Linked DNA regions of Homo sapiens: all the other regions are linked to region 3. Evidence: promoter capture Hi-C in 16 types of primary human blood cells and fetal thymus (Javierre and others, 2016). All regions are on one chromosome and are shown on one strand. Each heading gives the region's core, a stretch centred on a gene start or on the middle of the fragment in contact. The rest is flanking DNA. Distances are from core to core; before and after follow the strand shown.

Region 1 (2,705 bases), core at 13-2,512, 300 kb after region 3:
AGCGCAGGCGGAGGGGAGCGGAGTCTCAGGGTAGAGGTGTGGTGGGGTGAGGAGCCCCGCTGCCCTCATGACTGTCCTGAGACACTCCGGCTCCGGTCCCATCCCTGTCTTTCTCAGGGTCTCTCAGGGGCTCTGTCCCCTTCTCGGGGGGGTGGGGGGGTCTGCCCTCACGCTCTCTGGGCCTCTGTCTTCTCTCTGGGCTCCTGCCCTCCCCCACTCTCTCTAGTCTCGGTCCCCCTCTTTCTTTTGGTCTCTCCCCACTTTTCCATGTCTTCTCCCTATCTCTCCCTTCATGTCACCGCGCACCATTTCTCAAGGTAGCTGATTGTTCTTAAGACACATCTGTCTATCTCTGGTCCTATGATACCTTGCACGTCTCTTATCTGAGCTCAGGACAAGACCTTCTCCCCGGTCCCCAGCCAGGAAATTCCAGGGGAGAGGAGTATGCGGGAGCCCCCACATCCACTGTCTCCCCGGGCCTGGGGCCTTATCACTGCCCAAGCCCAGCTGGTTAATGTCTGGCGTGGAGCTCCTGGGAAGTGGGGAGGAGAGCAGAGGGTGGGAATCTGCCCCGGGATTGACACGCAATTGGCAAAAGACGGCAAAGGAATCTCAGGCCCAGACTCCTGGGGCTAATGGAGGAGGAGGCTGGGGGCTGGACTCCTGAGTCTGAGACGGGGCGGGGTTGGGAGGTGGTGGGGGGAACTGTGGGCTTAGTACTCAGGCGCCTGGGGCTGGGGGGAGAGGTGGCTGGGGTCGCAAGTCCTGGGTCTGAGGGAGGAGGGGCCGGATGCCTGGACTCCTGGGTCTGAAGGGAGGAGGGGCTGGGGGCCTGGACTGCTAGGTCCAAAGGAGGAGGCAGCTGGAAACTGGGACTCCTGTGACCAAGGCGGCCGCGTTGAACGAGCCAGGCCTGGCTTCCAAGGTCCCGGCACGCGAGTGCAAGGCAGGATCCCCCGGCCCCTCCTCTGCCGCCCGGCGCCGCCCCGCCCCCGCCCCCGACCCGGGCCCTGCGGAGCGTGAGCAGCTAGCACCCGGCGGGCCAGCGAGCGTCCCTGCAGCCAGCGAGCAGGAGGAGGAGCTGCTGCCGGGCGGAGGGCAGCCGCGGGAGCCGAAGAGGGCGCCCCAGGTAAGATCTCCACTCCTCCTCCCTCGGGATTCCGGCGTCCTGGTCGCCCTGCCCTCGGGTGGGGAGGGACGGGGGCGGGGCCGACCGGGGCGGGGCTTGGCGGAGGAAACTGAGGCAAGAGGGAAGTGTCCCAGATATGCAGCCGGTTTCCCCTGAGGGGTCTCGGAGTCCGGAACCCCCAACCCAAATCTGGAGGATGAGGAACCCGGAGTCTGCATTTCTTAGTATCCGAGAAGGAGGGGCCTGAATTCCAGAACTCCTGGGTCTGAGAGAGGAGGGCACTGGGGGCCTGGATTCCTGGGTCTGAGGGAGAAGGGCGCTGGGGGCATGGACTCCTGGGTCTGAAGGAGGAGGGCGCTGGGGACCTGGACTCCAGGGTCTGAGGGAGAAGGGTGCTGGGGGCCTGGGCCTGGACTCCTCCTGGGTCTGAGGGAGAAGGGTGCTGGGGGCCTGGACTTCTGGGTCTGAGAGAGGAGGGCGCTGGGGGCCTGGACTACTCCTGGGTCTGAGGGAGGAGGGCGCTGGGGATCTGAACTCCTGGGTCTGAAGGTGGAGGCCCTGGGGTCTGCACTACTCGGTCTGAGGGAGAAGGCGGTCCTGGTTGGGTCAGCCTGGGCTCCTTTCACTCTCCACCCTTCCCCTTTCCTGTACCGAGGAGCCAGGGCAGGCAGCCACTCCAGGTATGTGCAGAAGTCTTGGGCGGGCCCTGGCCTGTCCTGTGAGGAGGGAACATTCCAGGAAGCAGCTTGGGGAACCAGGGCTTCTTGAGTGTGGGCCCTCAGGGACCCGGGTGTCCAGGCCAGTTCCGCCCCATCTGGGAGATGAATGGGCCGAGGGGGATGTAATCTCTTCCAGCCTCCTTCATCCACTGCCTCTCCCTTCCCCTATTCTCCCTTCCCCTCCCTCCATCTGCTTCCCATCCCAGCCAGGAGCCATCACCTGGGTAGAAAAGGGGCCTCTGGAAAGGGGGCGGGGCCTTGACTCTTGGGTACCCTGCACTTGAAGAGGAACTCTGGGAAGGGGTTGTTCAGGGATTTGGCCCCTTCCCCACCTGCCTCTATAACCTGTCTATTCTTTTCTTCCCCTAGGTGGTTGCCCCCTCCCTCTCCTGAGATGTCAGGAAGGAGGGGGCCACCTGTGTCCTCCACAGGGGCCCCCCGAAGCCTGGGGACTCCCAGCCCCAGAGCTCCGAGGCGGAGGAGGTGCTGACAGGTCTGGTAACTACTGACTGTTTCCCAGTCTTCTCCACGCCACCCTTTCCCAGAACCACAGGCTTCCAGAATGTTGTAGGGAAACTGCAAAATCCGCGCCTCCACCAGCCTCTCCCAGCGCCAGGTCAATTTCACACACAGGGAAACTGAAGCCTGCCTCAGAGGGGCAGCGTTTTACCTCCTTAGTGGCAGTTTTGAGGTGAACTGGGGTCTCCCTAGGATTCCAGGTTGTGACCTTTCTCTAAATTGTGGAATGTGGCCAGGCGTGGTGGCTTGAGTCTGTAGTCCCAGCTACTCAGGAGGCTGAGGCAGGAGAATGCCATGAACTTGGGAGGCGGAGCTTGCAGTGAGCCAAGATCGTGCCA
Region 2 (2,701 bases), core at 43-2,542, 460 kb after region 3:
CTTCGCCTCATGGGAGCTGTAGTTTTCCCATTTATTTTCGCCCCACGAAGTGCCTGGAAGTTATAGCGCGGTAGCAATTGCATAGCCTTTCTTATGAGTTTCTTTCTTCTTCTTCTTATTATTCGAGACAGGGTTTGCTCTGTCACCCAGGTTGGAGTGCAGTGGCGCAATCACTTCTCACTGCAGCCTCTACCTCCCAGGCCCAAGCAATCCTCCCGCGTCAGCCTCCCAAGTAGATGGGACCACAGGCCACACTACCATGCCTGGCTAATGTATATTTTTTAAATTTTTAATACAAATATTTAAATCTTTAATTCTTTTTTAGCCTTTTTTTTTTTTTAACGTTCTGTCTTTCACACTTCTCACACTTTGTTGTTGTTGTTTTTTAAAGAGACGGATGTCAAGCCGGGCTTGGGGGTTCACTCCTGTAATCCCAGCACTTTGGGAGGCTGAGGCAGGCAGATCACCTGAGGTCAAGGGTTTGAGACCAGCCTGGCCAACATGGAGAAACCTCGCCTCCACTAAAAATACAAATTAGCCAGGCGTGGTTGCGCATGCCTGTAATCCCAGCTACTCAGGAAGCTGAGGCAGGACAATCTCTTAAACCCGGGAGGCGGAGGTTGCAGTGAGCCGAGATCGCGCCACTGCACTCCAGCCTGGGCGACAGAGTGAGACTACGTCTCAAAAAAAAAAAAAAATCTCTGTGTTGCTGGTCTGGATCTGGATCTCCTGGACTCAAGCAATCTTGCCTCCCCGTCTCCGCCTCCCAAAGTGCTGGGATTACAGGCGTGAGCCACTGCGCCCCGCCTCTTTTAAGTTTCTTGTAAGCGAGATGTGTACAGTGAGGCCGCGAGGTCTCTGGTCTCCCGCTCTCTCTCTCTCTTTTTTTTTTTTTTTTTGAGACGGTGTCTACCTCTGTCACACAGGCTGGAGTGCAGTGGCGCGATCTCAGCTCACTGCGAGCTCCGCCTCCCGGGTTCACGCCATTCTCCTGCCTCAGCCTCCCGAGTAGCTGGGACTACAGGCGCCCGCCCGCCACAACGCCCGGCTAATTTTTTTGTGTATATATATATATTTTTTTTTAGTAGAGACGGGGATTCACCATGTTAGCCAGGATGGTCTAGATCTCCTGACCCCGTGATCCGCCCGCCTCGGCCTCCCAAAGTGCTGGGATTACAGGCGTGAGCCACCGCGCCGGGCCGGTCTCTGGTCTCTTTAAGGAACCCCCACACGGCATTCGTGTTCAGAACCCCCGGAGCAGGGTTGCCTGGCTGCATCAGTGACCGAGTTCGTTACTTTGTTGGAAGTGGAGAGTGGAGGGTCAGAAGGGAGTGGACCAGTTCAGGTCCCAGAGGGAATCCTCCCTCCCTCTGAGCCGTCTTTCTTCTCCTCCCTATTTCGCAGATATCCCGAGATTAGGTCCCCAGCTTCCAAAGAGAGGATCAGGTATGTTTAGAGATTGGCCAGAGAGGCAAGGTACCGAGGCATCAATGTGAGCAGCCTCTCCAGGCACCTGGTGAGGAGAACAAGTCTCCCGGATCCCAGGCAGGTGGGCAGTGGAGTTCTAGGCCGCTGGGGGCTGGGTGTTTGAAGTGCACAGTCCTGAGTTCTGATGCCTGGGTGCTGGAGAATTAGATATTTGGGGGAGAGAGAAGCGGACTTGCGGACCCCCGTGGGAAGCTGGAAACAGGCTACTAGATCCCGACAGGAGTGGGTGCTGGGATTCGGGCTGCCTGGGTCCGGAAGCAAATTTAAAGGTAAGGATCAGGCCGGGCACTGTGGCTCATGCCTGTAATCCTAGCACTTTGGAAGGCCAAGGCGGGCAGATCACCTGAGGTCAGGAGTCCGGCACCAGCCTGGCCAACATAGTGAAAACCGGTATCTACTAAAATACAAAAAAATTAGGCAGAATAGCGGACGCCTGTAGTCCCAGCTACTCGGGAGGCTGAGGCAGGAGAATCGCTTGAACCCAGGAGGTGGAGGTTGCAGTGGCCGAGATGGCGCCACTGCACTGCAGCCTGGGCGACAGAGCGAGGCTCAGCTGTCTCTAAATACATAAATAAATAAATAAATAAATAAATAAATAAGGCTAAAGATTAGGTGCTGGTGGGCAGGATCCATTGGGATGTTGGTTCTGATCCTGACTCCTCATTCTTGCTTCTGCAGAATGTCTCAGGATAATGACACATTGATGAGAGAGTGAGTAGGGAAACAGATGGGTAGGGGTGGAGGTGGAAAGGGCTGGGGACCCCGTGCACTCGGCTCTGGCTTCATAACCATGTTTGCAGGTTCAGCACCATCGGCCTTGCAGGAAGGGGCTGGGGACCTGGACTCCTGTGTCCTGAAGGGATGGGGCTAGGGTGCAGACTTCTGGGTCTGAAAGAGAAGGGGTTGGGGGCCCCAGACTCCTGAATCCTGAGACAGGAGGGACCTGGGATCTCTGGGTCCCGGCTTCTGTGGGCCAGTGCCAGGAGAAAGGGCCCTATAACTGGTGGAGCAGGCTCAGGTTCTGCACCTCCTGTGACCTCACAGGTGCCCAGAACCCAAGCTGAGATAGGGGCAGGATGGGGGAAGGAGGGACTCTCTTGGGCAACCGAGGTTCCCTGTGCACTGTCACCATGGGCCTGTGTCTCTCTCAGCATCCTGGGGCATGAGCTCGCTGCTATGAGGCTGCAGAAGCTGGAACAGCAGGTATTGTGCC
Region 3 (2,700 bases), core at 1-2,500:
CCCACGTCAGTTGACCTCAGTCCTGGAGACCAAGTCCTGGAAGTCCTGGCGGTGTTCTCTGATTGCGGCCCTCGTTTCGGAGTCCCGCCCAATCGCAATGGCCACGCCCCTTGGCTGAAAGCCACGCCCCTGCACTGGGCCACGCCCCTGCACTGGACCACGCCCCTGCGTCCCAGATCTTGCCCTCATCACCCCAAGTTCCAGTCCTAGGCTCCTCCTACTGGAGACACCGGAGTACAAGCATCCCTTTTAGCTCTCACTCTAATTGTGTATCTGTTTCGGAACCTTTTCTCCGTGTCCCTTCTGGTTTTCCCGCTCCCGCTCCACTAAAAAGTCCCGTTGTCTCCGGAAACCCTAAATCCAGTCTTATATTTCATCTTCCAAGGAACCCAGAATCAGACTTCCTTTTCCCTGAGGACCTCAGGTCCGGACTCCCGCCCCCTCTAGTCCCGTAATTTTGAACACGCAGCCTTTCACCCTTAAGGGACCGGGCCCTAAGCCATCTTCCCTCAGGCACCAAAGCTCTCTTCCCCGTCCCGGGACAGCCGCCAGCCGTCTCCAGTCCACTAGCGCCTGTAGATGAGGAATCTGCACCTACGTGGGCCTCCAATAAACTCCCGGTGGTCCTGCCCACGACTCTTAACTGTGGTGAGGTCACAAGGAAACCAGGTCGTCATAGGAATCAGTCAAAACCCATCCCCAGACCCCAATCCTCAAAAAAAAAAAAAAACAAAAAAAACAAAAAACAAAAAAACCAAAAACCAAACAGAAAAAAAGAAAAAAAACCTCAGGGCTTAACAGTAAAGACTCTTTGTATTCGTATCACTTCCGCACCCCCAATACACAAACACGAGGGTAGCCGGGATTCCAGGCGCCTAGCCCCGTCCCCTCTCAGACCTAGGAGCCCATATCTCTCTCCAGCCGCTTCCTCTCCCAGACCCAGGAGTCCCAGCCCCCAGACCCAGGAGTCCCAGCCCCCAGCCTCTCCTCCCTCAGATCAGGGGTTTCTGGCTCCTATCAGCCTTTTCCCTCCGACTTGGAGTCCGAACCCCCAATCCCCCTCCTTTCCCAAGCACCCAAATCCTGAGTTCCTACCAGCCCCGAGATAGACTAATCTCTCCCAAAGCAAAAATCCTTCCCCAAACTGTCACCGTCGGATCCCCCTTCCCGCTGTCCGCCGGCCGGGCCCGCCCCCCCCTCCGGTCCCTCCCACTTTTCCCAAACAAAGCTCCCGGCAACTTTCTCCCTCGCAGCGCCCCGCCCGCCCGCGGCTCCCCAGCCCCAGGCCGGGAGGTAGGAAGGCGCCGGCGGGAGTCGGGGATCCTGCTTTGGGGTGTGTGAGTTGGGGTGGGGAGTTGCTTCTTAGGAGGTGAGGCGTGCGTTTGCGGGACCGTCTCTGAATGGTTCGCAGCCCTCTTTTTGCCCGGGGGCCCGAATTTGCTCCCGTGACCGAGCCTCAGTGAGGAGTGGGAACTCTGGCCGGAGTTAGGGTGCCTGCGGCTGGGTCTGAGTTTGGGCGTGCGCGCAGGAGCGGGTGCGGGCCAAGGGCGCTGGCGGGGTGTGGGGCGTGCGTCTGCGGCGGTGTCACTTTGGAGTGAGAAGGACCCCTTGTGTAATCTGGGGGGCATTTGGTCCTTCTTACGGAGAAGGGAGGGCCTCTGGGGTGGCCGAGGGGAGGTTACGGGGCTTTCTGGATCTTAAGTCTTGCCTCTTTGGAGGTTTAGGGTCTGGGGCGGGAAATTAGGGGGACCTTTCTTACCCGGCTCCACCGTCCCTTTGTCTGGCCACATGGGGAAGGGCTGGGCTGGGATTTTGGCCTACGGGGGTCCTGAACGCCGCAGCGCCACTGGGCTTGGCTGGGGTCTTTGTCTGCTATGGTCGGCGGGAGGAGGGGAATAGGGGCCTGGACTCTGGGGTCCTGGGAAAGCTGTGGAGGACATGGAGCCTCCGGGGAGGCGGGATCTGACTGTATTGGAAAAAGTTTTCCCTGTTCCCGGCCTCCGGAAAGTCACTGGGAACTTGAGTTGGATCAGAGCCCACGGCGCACGGGGGAGGGGAGGGGCGGGGCCCGGTGCCGGAGGGGAGTCGCCCTGGCCGGCAAGCCCCTCCCCTGATGGGGGTTGTGGGAAGCTGGGGGAGGGGACGCCTGGGCCCTTTGTTCTGGCTCTTCTGATGGCAGGGCGCCCCTGTCCCCCAGCTTGTGGTTCTGTGGGTCTCTCCTGGTCTCGGCCTCAGCTGCTGCCCTGAGTCTCTGTCCCTGCCCTTTCTAGGTCTCCGTCTCCCTTTCTCTGGGTCTCTGTTGCCCTCTCTCTGAGCCTCTGTCCCCCTCTCTCTGAGTCTGTGTCCCCCTCTCTCTGGGTCTCTGGTCCCCTCTCTCTCTGGGTCTCTGTCCCTCTCTCTCTGGGTCTCTGTCCCCCTCTCTCTGGGTCTCTGTCACCCTCTCTCTCTGGGTCTCTGTCTCCCTCTCTGGGCCTCTGGACCCCTCTCTCTGGTCCCTGTCCCCCCCCCCCGGTCTCTGTCCCCCTCTTTCTGGTCTCTGTCTCCCCCTCTCCCTGGGTCTCTGTCTCCCTCTCTTTTTGGGTCTCTGTCCCTCTCTCTGGGTCTCTGTCCCCCTCTCTGGTCTCTGTCCCCCCCTCCCTCTGGTCTCTGTCCCCCCCTCCCTCTGGTCTCTGTCCCCCTCTCTCTCTGGGTCTCTGTCCC
Region 4 (2,700 bases), core at 183-2,682, 370 kb after region 3:
CAATGTTGGCCACGAACTCCTGACCTGAAGTGATCCGCCCGCCTCGGCCTCCCAAAGTGCTGGGATTACAGGCATGAGCCACCACGCCAGGCCAAAATCGCTTCTTTATTCAGGTAATTGAGCAGGTGCCAGGCCAAGTTTCCTGGCCTCTCCTTCATTCACATGTATTCATTCATTCAAATATTCAAGTGATAATTTATTGAGCATTTACACTGAGACGTAGCCCGTGTGAAATACTGGAAATATGAAAATGGCCAAAACGGTAGCATGACAAGATCCCGATTTCTGGGTCCCTAATCCTTCAGTCCTCTCCACTAAGACTCTCTTGTTCCTCGACAATTTCTTCCCACTAAAGGCTCACTAGGCGCCCTCGCGCTCTCAGACACACTGAACAGGTACCTGCCTGTGCTTCCAGCTTGGAACTCAAGTGCCATTGGCACCACTAACAATCCAAGGCTCCCAAATGGCTCGAAGCGCAAGGTCCTACAACCCTCCTCATCACACACTGGCGCCAAGGACTGCGGAACCGGCCGTTGCGCCAAGATGATTTTGAAAGTTGGAGTTCCTATAGCATGATGGGGCCAGACCCGAGATTCTGGGATCCCAGCCCCCTCCCCGCCTCAGATCCAGAAGTCCAGCCCCCATGTCCCCTTCTCCCCCAGATCTGGGTGGCCGAGCTTCCTCCTCTTTCAGACCCAGGAGTCTGAACCCCCAGATCCCCCCTCCCTCAGACCCAGGAGTCAGGGCCTCCAGCATCCTCCTCTCTCAAACTCGAGACTGCTAGCTCGCTCCTCACCCTCCATGCACCCACACTTACAACGGTTGCCATGATGCTCACCAACTGCCAGAGTCCTAGCGGAAACGGAAACGCGCGAGGAGCGAGATGTTCTGGCTCCTCTAGGCTAGCTGGTTCTTCAAAGATCTCGATGGTTCCTCATAAATATGTAAATATTGTGGGGGCGTGGCGGGACTTTATGCCCCGCCCTCCCACCGAGGCTGCGCTGGAAGACGGGCGTCCGGAACTCCTGGGTCCATTCCCAATGTCTCCTGGCTCCTCCTCCTTTTGCTCAGCCCCACCACCGCCCCGCTCAGGCCGATTGCAAAATTCTTAGCTGTTCTTTGAGTAACCACACGTCCTCCACGCTCCTTTCCTCTTTATCCCACCCTCCTCCTCCTCCCCACTTTGAGGCCTCCAGCTCCAGATTGACAGAGCTGAAGGCCACTCGTTTCCGTAAAGCGCAGCGGCAAGCTCCGCCCCCTGGAGGTCTCACGGCCGAGGCGGGGCCGGGACACAGCGACTCCAACCCGTTCCACCAATGAGGACACGCGGAAATCCCCGCCCCCGGGCGTGGGCCAATGGCGCTGGCTGGGGGGGGCGGCCACCGCCTCCTGGCGGCTGCGAGGTTTCACTGCAGGGGCGCCAGTGGGCTCAGTGACGCTGCGGCCTCCTTCTGCCTAGGTCCCAACGCTTCGGGGCAGGGGTGCGGTCTTGCAATAGGAAGCCGAGCGTCTTGCAAGCTTCCCGTCGGGCACCAGCTACTCGGCCCCGCACCCTACCTGGTGCATTCCCTAGACACCTCCGGGGTCCCTACCTGGAGATCCCCGGAGCCCCCCTTCCTGCGCCAGCCATGCCTTTAAACCGCACTTTGTCCATGTCCTCACTGCCAGGACTGGAGGACTGGGAGGATGAATTCGACCTGGAGAACGCAGTGCTCTTCGAAGTGGCCTGGGAGGTGGCTAACAAGGGTGAGCACGCCAGGCGTCGGGGCCCTTGACGAGAAGGACAGTAGTGGATGGGGGCCCGGAACTCTGAGTTGTAGGAGGACGGGGCTACTAGGGGAACCCTTGTGACCTGGGCAAGGAGGCTGTGTCCTTGAGGAGGGGCTGGGAAGCCGGAGGTGGGTGGGAGAGGGATGGTTCGTTTGACTTAAGATGAAAGGAGGCTGGAAGCCCGGGTTCTGGGTCCTAGGGAAGAGGGCGCTAAAATGAGACTCCTAGGTCCTGGAGGCAGGCTTCCGAGAGACTAGATACCTGGGTCCTGAACAGGGAAGGGGATGGGGGGATGGGATTTCTGCGTGCAAACCTGGGAAGCTGCCGGGGTTTCAGACCTATGACCCTAACAGCATGGTCTAGGGGATAAAACTCCAGATTTGAGAGAGAGCTGACTGGGAGATAGGAGGCCTGAGCGGCGGTGGGAGGACCTGAGGATCTGGCTGCTTAAGAATAAAGATGGGACGGGCTGGAGACTGTAATGAATGCCTGGGCTTTGAAGGAGCTGAGGGCCTGAGCTATTAGTTCCTAGGAGTAGAGGAGCCCATGGCCTGGGACACATGCGTACTGGAATAGGGGAAGGCTGGGAAGTCCTAAGTTAGTCAGAGGCTGGGCCCTAGGATGGGAGGGGCTAGGAGCCTGCATTTCTGTGTCTTGGGCTTCAGAAAGCTGAGGTTCTGGCCTTGGAGAAGGCTGGGGCTGAAATCCCCAGGAACAAGCCAATCTCACACCTCAAAGAGCAGGGTCTGGGGGGTTGCTTTGCTGGGTCTTGGAGGAGAAAGGGACTGTGTCTCCCAGGAGGAGAGGGGGCCCGTGAACACCCAGCCGGGTATCGCCAGGGCCTGGGCTCCAGGATGGGAGGAGGCTGGGGGCTGGGGCTCCTGGGTCTGGGATAGGGTCATGGGAGAGGCAGAGCCCTGCATGCTGGTG
Region 5 (2,700 bases), core at 70-2,569, 310 kb before region 3:
TCCAAGAAGGGCCACGTCACAGGCCATGACCTACTAGGCTCCAAGCACCCTCCCTCCAGCTCTCCCAAGCTAGCGGGGATGCCTATAAGAAGAAAGGTGCTGAGGGGGTTTCCCACTCGGGCCTATTTCTCAATACCACTGAAAACTACCGCCAGACAACCCCAGCCCCAGAGGGCTTGAAACGCAAGACTGAAACCTCCCCCACATGGCTGCACGAGAACCAAACCTCACTCGAAACCATTTCAGGCACCCACTCTCAGGACCCCAGGGCTCAGGACCCTGCACAGGGCTTCAGGAAGAAGGAGGTCATCTCGCACCCTCACAAAGACCCGGGGGAGATAAACGGCTCCAGTAGGGTAAAGCTCTCAGCCTACATATTTCCCACAACTCCTTCCCAGCGGACATACCCTCCTCCCTCCGCCCGCCAGGAAGAAATCCGAGGGGAGGTGGGCTTCAGGACACGCCCCATGAAAAAGATGTCCCTCCCACACACCCAGAAATGGCCACAAGGGGGTGCACGGCGCCTATTAATGGGAAAATCTCTATCTAGATGCCCCACCACCACCCAGAGGGAGGTCACAGGGGCATGCCCCATCCCCCAACTCCTAAAGCCCTGGGCGAGGGGGAGAATTCTGGGAGGGGAAACGGGGTCGGCGGGGGACCCCATTCTTGGTTTTCCTCCAGTCCCTAACCCAGAACGCACAAAACCGGGTCCGATATCCCAACAGATGCCCCCGGAGCTCGGAAGGAGGTTGGTAAAGGGCTGAGAAGCACTGCTCCTCCCAAGAGACTCCCCACATCGTGGAGGGCCCCAGGTCGATCACACCCCACGGCGTGTGCCCAGGTCCCCGGGGAGGAGGGCTGGGGGCGTCAGGAGGGTCGGACCCCCTCCCCGCCCCCCTGGGCGCCCCTCCCCGGCCGGGGGCGGGGCCTTTGTCCCGCACGTGGAGCCCGCCGGGCCACTGGACTCGGCACACCCCCTCCCCACCCACCGCGCAGCGGCCACGTGGGGGCCTGGCCGGAAGCGCCCCCAGCCCTCCTCCACGTGGGAGGGGGGATAAGACCCTCCGCTAGGCCGGATGCCGAAGGCCCTTGGAAGCTAGGGAGCCGTCACCTCAAACGATATCCCCGGATGTGGAACGTGCGGCGCCCCCGTGTGCGGCGGGGGACCTCCAACCCCATATCGCCAACTTAGAGCCCTTTCCCCACCACAGAGGCGTGAAACACCGACCCAAAGCCGCCTCCCGCCCACGGCGGCGCTCCAAGCGCTCACCTCCATGATGCAGTTCGCGGCCTCGGCTGCCGCCATCTTCACCCGCACCTACTCCTCCTCCGGCCGCCAAGACCCCCCCTTTCTCCTCACTCCCCCGGGACCGCCTTATACCAGAGGGTCCACGGCCCGCCTACCGCGACCCCGCTGGAAGATTTCATTGGCAATGGAGGCGGCCCGTCTGAGAATACCGTCTAGTAATTGGCTAGAGAATACGTCCATCATAGGTCAGGGGTTTGCCAACTCTGGCGTCCAGAATCCCGCCCCCTCAAGTCGACCCGGGATGGGGAAAACTGCCCGTCTATTGCAAGAAGCGCGACTGGTGATTGGGCAAAATCCACCAGGAATGCCCTCCCCTTTACACCCAGCACCGCCTCAAAGCTTCCCGGGGAGCCCCGCGCTAAAGGGGCGTCTTGAAACACCTGTCCATCACCAAAACGACCCGCCTCCTAATCGCTGCCATTGGTTTATCCGGAAGCGACGTCACGCAGCCTTTGGCCCACCCTCGCCAAGCGGCCGGCCTCAAGGAGAACACGGCAATTGGCCCACGGGTAGGGAAGAAGGCGGGGCTTCAGGCACCAACGATTGGCTCAAAGGAATTATCACTCCTCGTCCACTCGGTGGATCCTCCCAACCCGGGGGGAGTCTGGAGGAAAAAGGGAGCTTGTGCTCATTACCTGGGGGAAAAACGGAATCGGTGAGAGGCCCAGAGAGAGGAAGGGCATAGCTGGGGTCCCGAAGCAAGTGAGGAATAGGAGTCCGTCGTCAACACATTAAATCCCTAGCCCTTGACATAATCATTCCAAGTTTTTTAAAACCATCAACCCCTCTCAAGCCACTTGGTTTTTGCCAAGTCCCTCCCCCTGCCAGGAACGCCCACCTCTCTTTGTCTGGTCAGCTTCTAAACGTGAATCAGAGCACAGCTTAGGCACCACTTCCTCCGGGAAGCTTTCCTTGATTTGCAGAAAAAGTTCCTAGTTGAATGAAGCTGAATGCAAAGGGCCGAATGCGTGGGTCCTGCCCCTCCTCTCCCCGATCCCTCTACTTCCCTCTGCTCACACTTCTCTCCAATCCCGGAATGAGCTCGCTCTTTGGTTTCTGGGCCTCCGCGCAGGCTATACTCTCTGGCGTGCCGCTGGCAAACGCCTGAGACTTAAAATTTACAATAGGGTTCGGGCGCGATGGCTCACGGGTGTAATTCCAGCACTTTAGGAGGCGGAGGCAGGCGGATCACTTGACATCAGGAGTTCGAGACCAGTCTGGGCAACATGGTGAAACCCCCATTTCTATTAAAAATACAAAAATTACGCCAGGCGGCCGGGCGCGGTGGCTCACGCCTGTAATCCCAGCATTTTGGGAGACCGAGGCGGGCGGATCACAAGGTCAGGAGGTCGAGACCATCCTGGCTAACATGGTGAAACCCCCGTCTC

Evidence for each region. The method cuts DNA at HindIII sites, captures the fragments that hold promoters and counts their contacts. A CHiCAGO score of 5 or more calls a contact.
Region 1: a contact is called between the fragment with the promoter of NTF4 here and the fragment with the promoter of TEAD2 in region 3, in 16 of 17 cell types (total B cells, total CD8 T cells, M0 macrophages and 13 more). The highest score is 12.8, in total B cells.
Region 2: a contact is called between the fragment with the promoter of TULP2 here and the fragment with the promoter of TEAD2 in region 3, in 5 of 17 cell types (naive B cells, total B cells, naive CD8 T cells and 2 more). The highest score is 6.3, in naive B cells.
Region 4: a contact is called between the fragment with the promoter of GYS1 here and the fragment with the promoter of TEAD2 in region 3, in 4 of 17 cell types (M0 macrophages, endothelial precursors, M1 macrophages and 1 more). The highest score is 8.0, in M0 macrophages.
Region 5: the fragment with the promoter of PRMT1 here is called in contact with the fragment with the promoter of TEAD2 in region 3 in 10 of 17 cell types (naive CD8 T cells, naive CD4 T cells, total CD4 T cells and 7 more); the score reaches 15.7 in naive CD8 T cells.

What each region holds. Positions count from the first base shown.
Region 1 is chr19:49,063,375-49,066,079 of GRCh38, reverse strand. It overlaps NTF4 (neurotrophin 4), which reads left to right and starts at 1,262. Exons shown (of 2, transcript NM_006179.5): 1 at 1,262-2,341. The HindIII fragment of the contact is 7,079 bases long and covers 1-2,705 here.
Region 2 is chr19:48,897,335-48,900,035 of GRCh38, reverse strand. TULP2 (TUB like protein 2) reads left to right here and starts at 1,292. Exons shown (of 13, transcript NM_003323.3): 1 at 1,292-1,446; 2 at 2,167-2,199; 3 at 2,640-2,691. The coding sequence starts at 2,168. RefSeq lists a cis regulatory region at 548-1,547 and an enhancer at 1,082-1,897. The HindIII fragment of the contact is 14,951 bases long and covers 1-2,701 here.
Region 3 is chr19:49,360,966-49,363,665 of GRCh38, reverse strand. TEAD2 (TEA domain transcription factor 2) reads left to right here and starts at 1,250. Exons shown (of 13, transcript NM_001256660.2): 1 at 1,250-1,333. It also overlaps a transcript of DKKL1 not described here. RefSeq lists enhancers at 1,457-2,165, 2,166-2,700. The HindIII fragment of the contact is 6,430 bases long and covers 1-2,700 here.
Region 4 is chr19:48,992,041-48,994,740 of GRCh38, reverse strand. GYS1 (glycogen synthase 1) reads left to right here and starts at 1,432. Exons shown (of 16, transcript NM_002103.5): 1 at 1,432-1,746. The coding sequence starts at 1,629. It overlaps RUVBL2 (RuvB like AAA ATPase 2), which reads right to left and starts at 854. Exons shown (of 15, transcript NM_006666.3): 1 at 818-854. The coding sequence starts at 829. RefSeq lists enhancers at 956-1,045, 1,736-1,875 and a silencer at 1,166-1,525. The HindIII fragment of the contact is 2,230 bases long and covers 1-1,520 here.
Region 5 is chr19:49,675,890-49,678,589 of GRCh38, reverse strand. It overlaps PRMT1 (protein arginine methyltransferase 1), which reads right to left and starts at 1,319. Exons shown (of 11, transcript NM_001536.6): 1 at 1,274-1,319. The coding sequence starts at 1,309. RefSeq lists a silencer at 825-1,104 and enhancers at 949-1,680, 1,685-1,834. The HindIII fragment of the contact is 22,690 bases long and covers 1-1,653 here.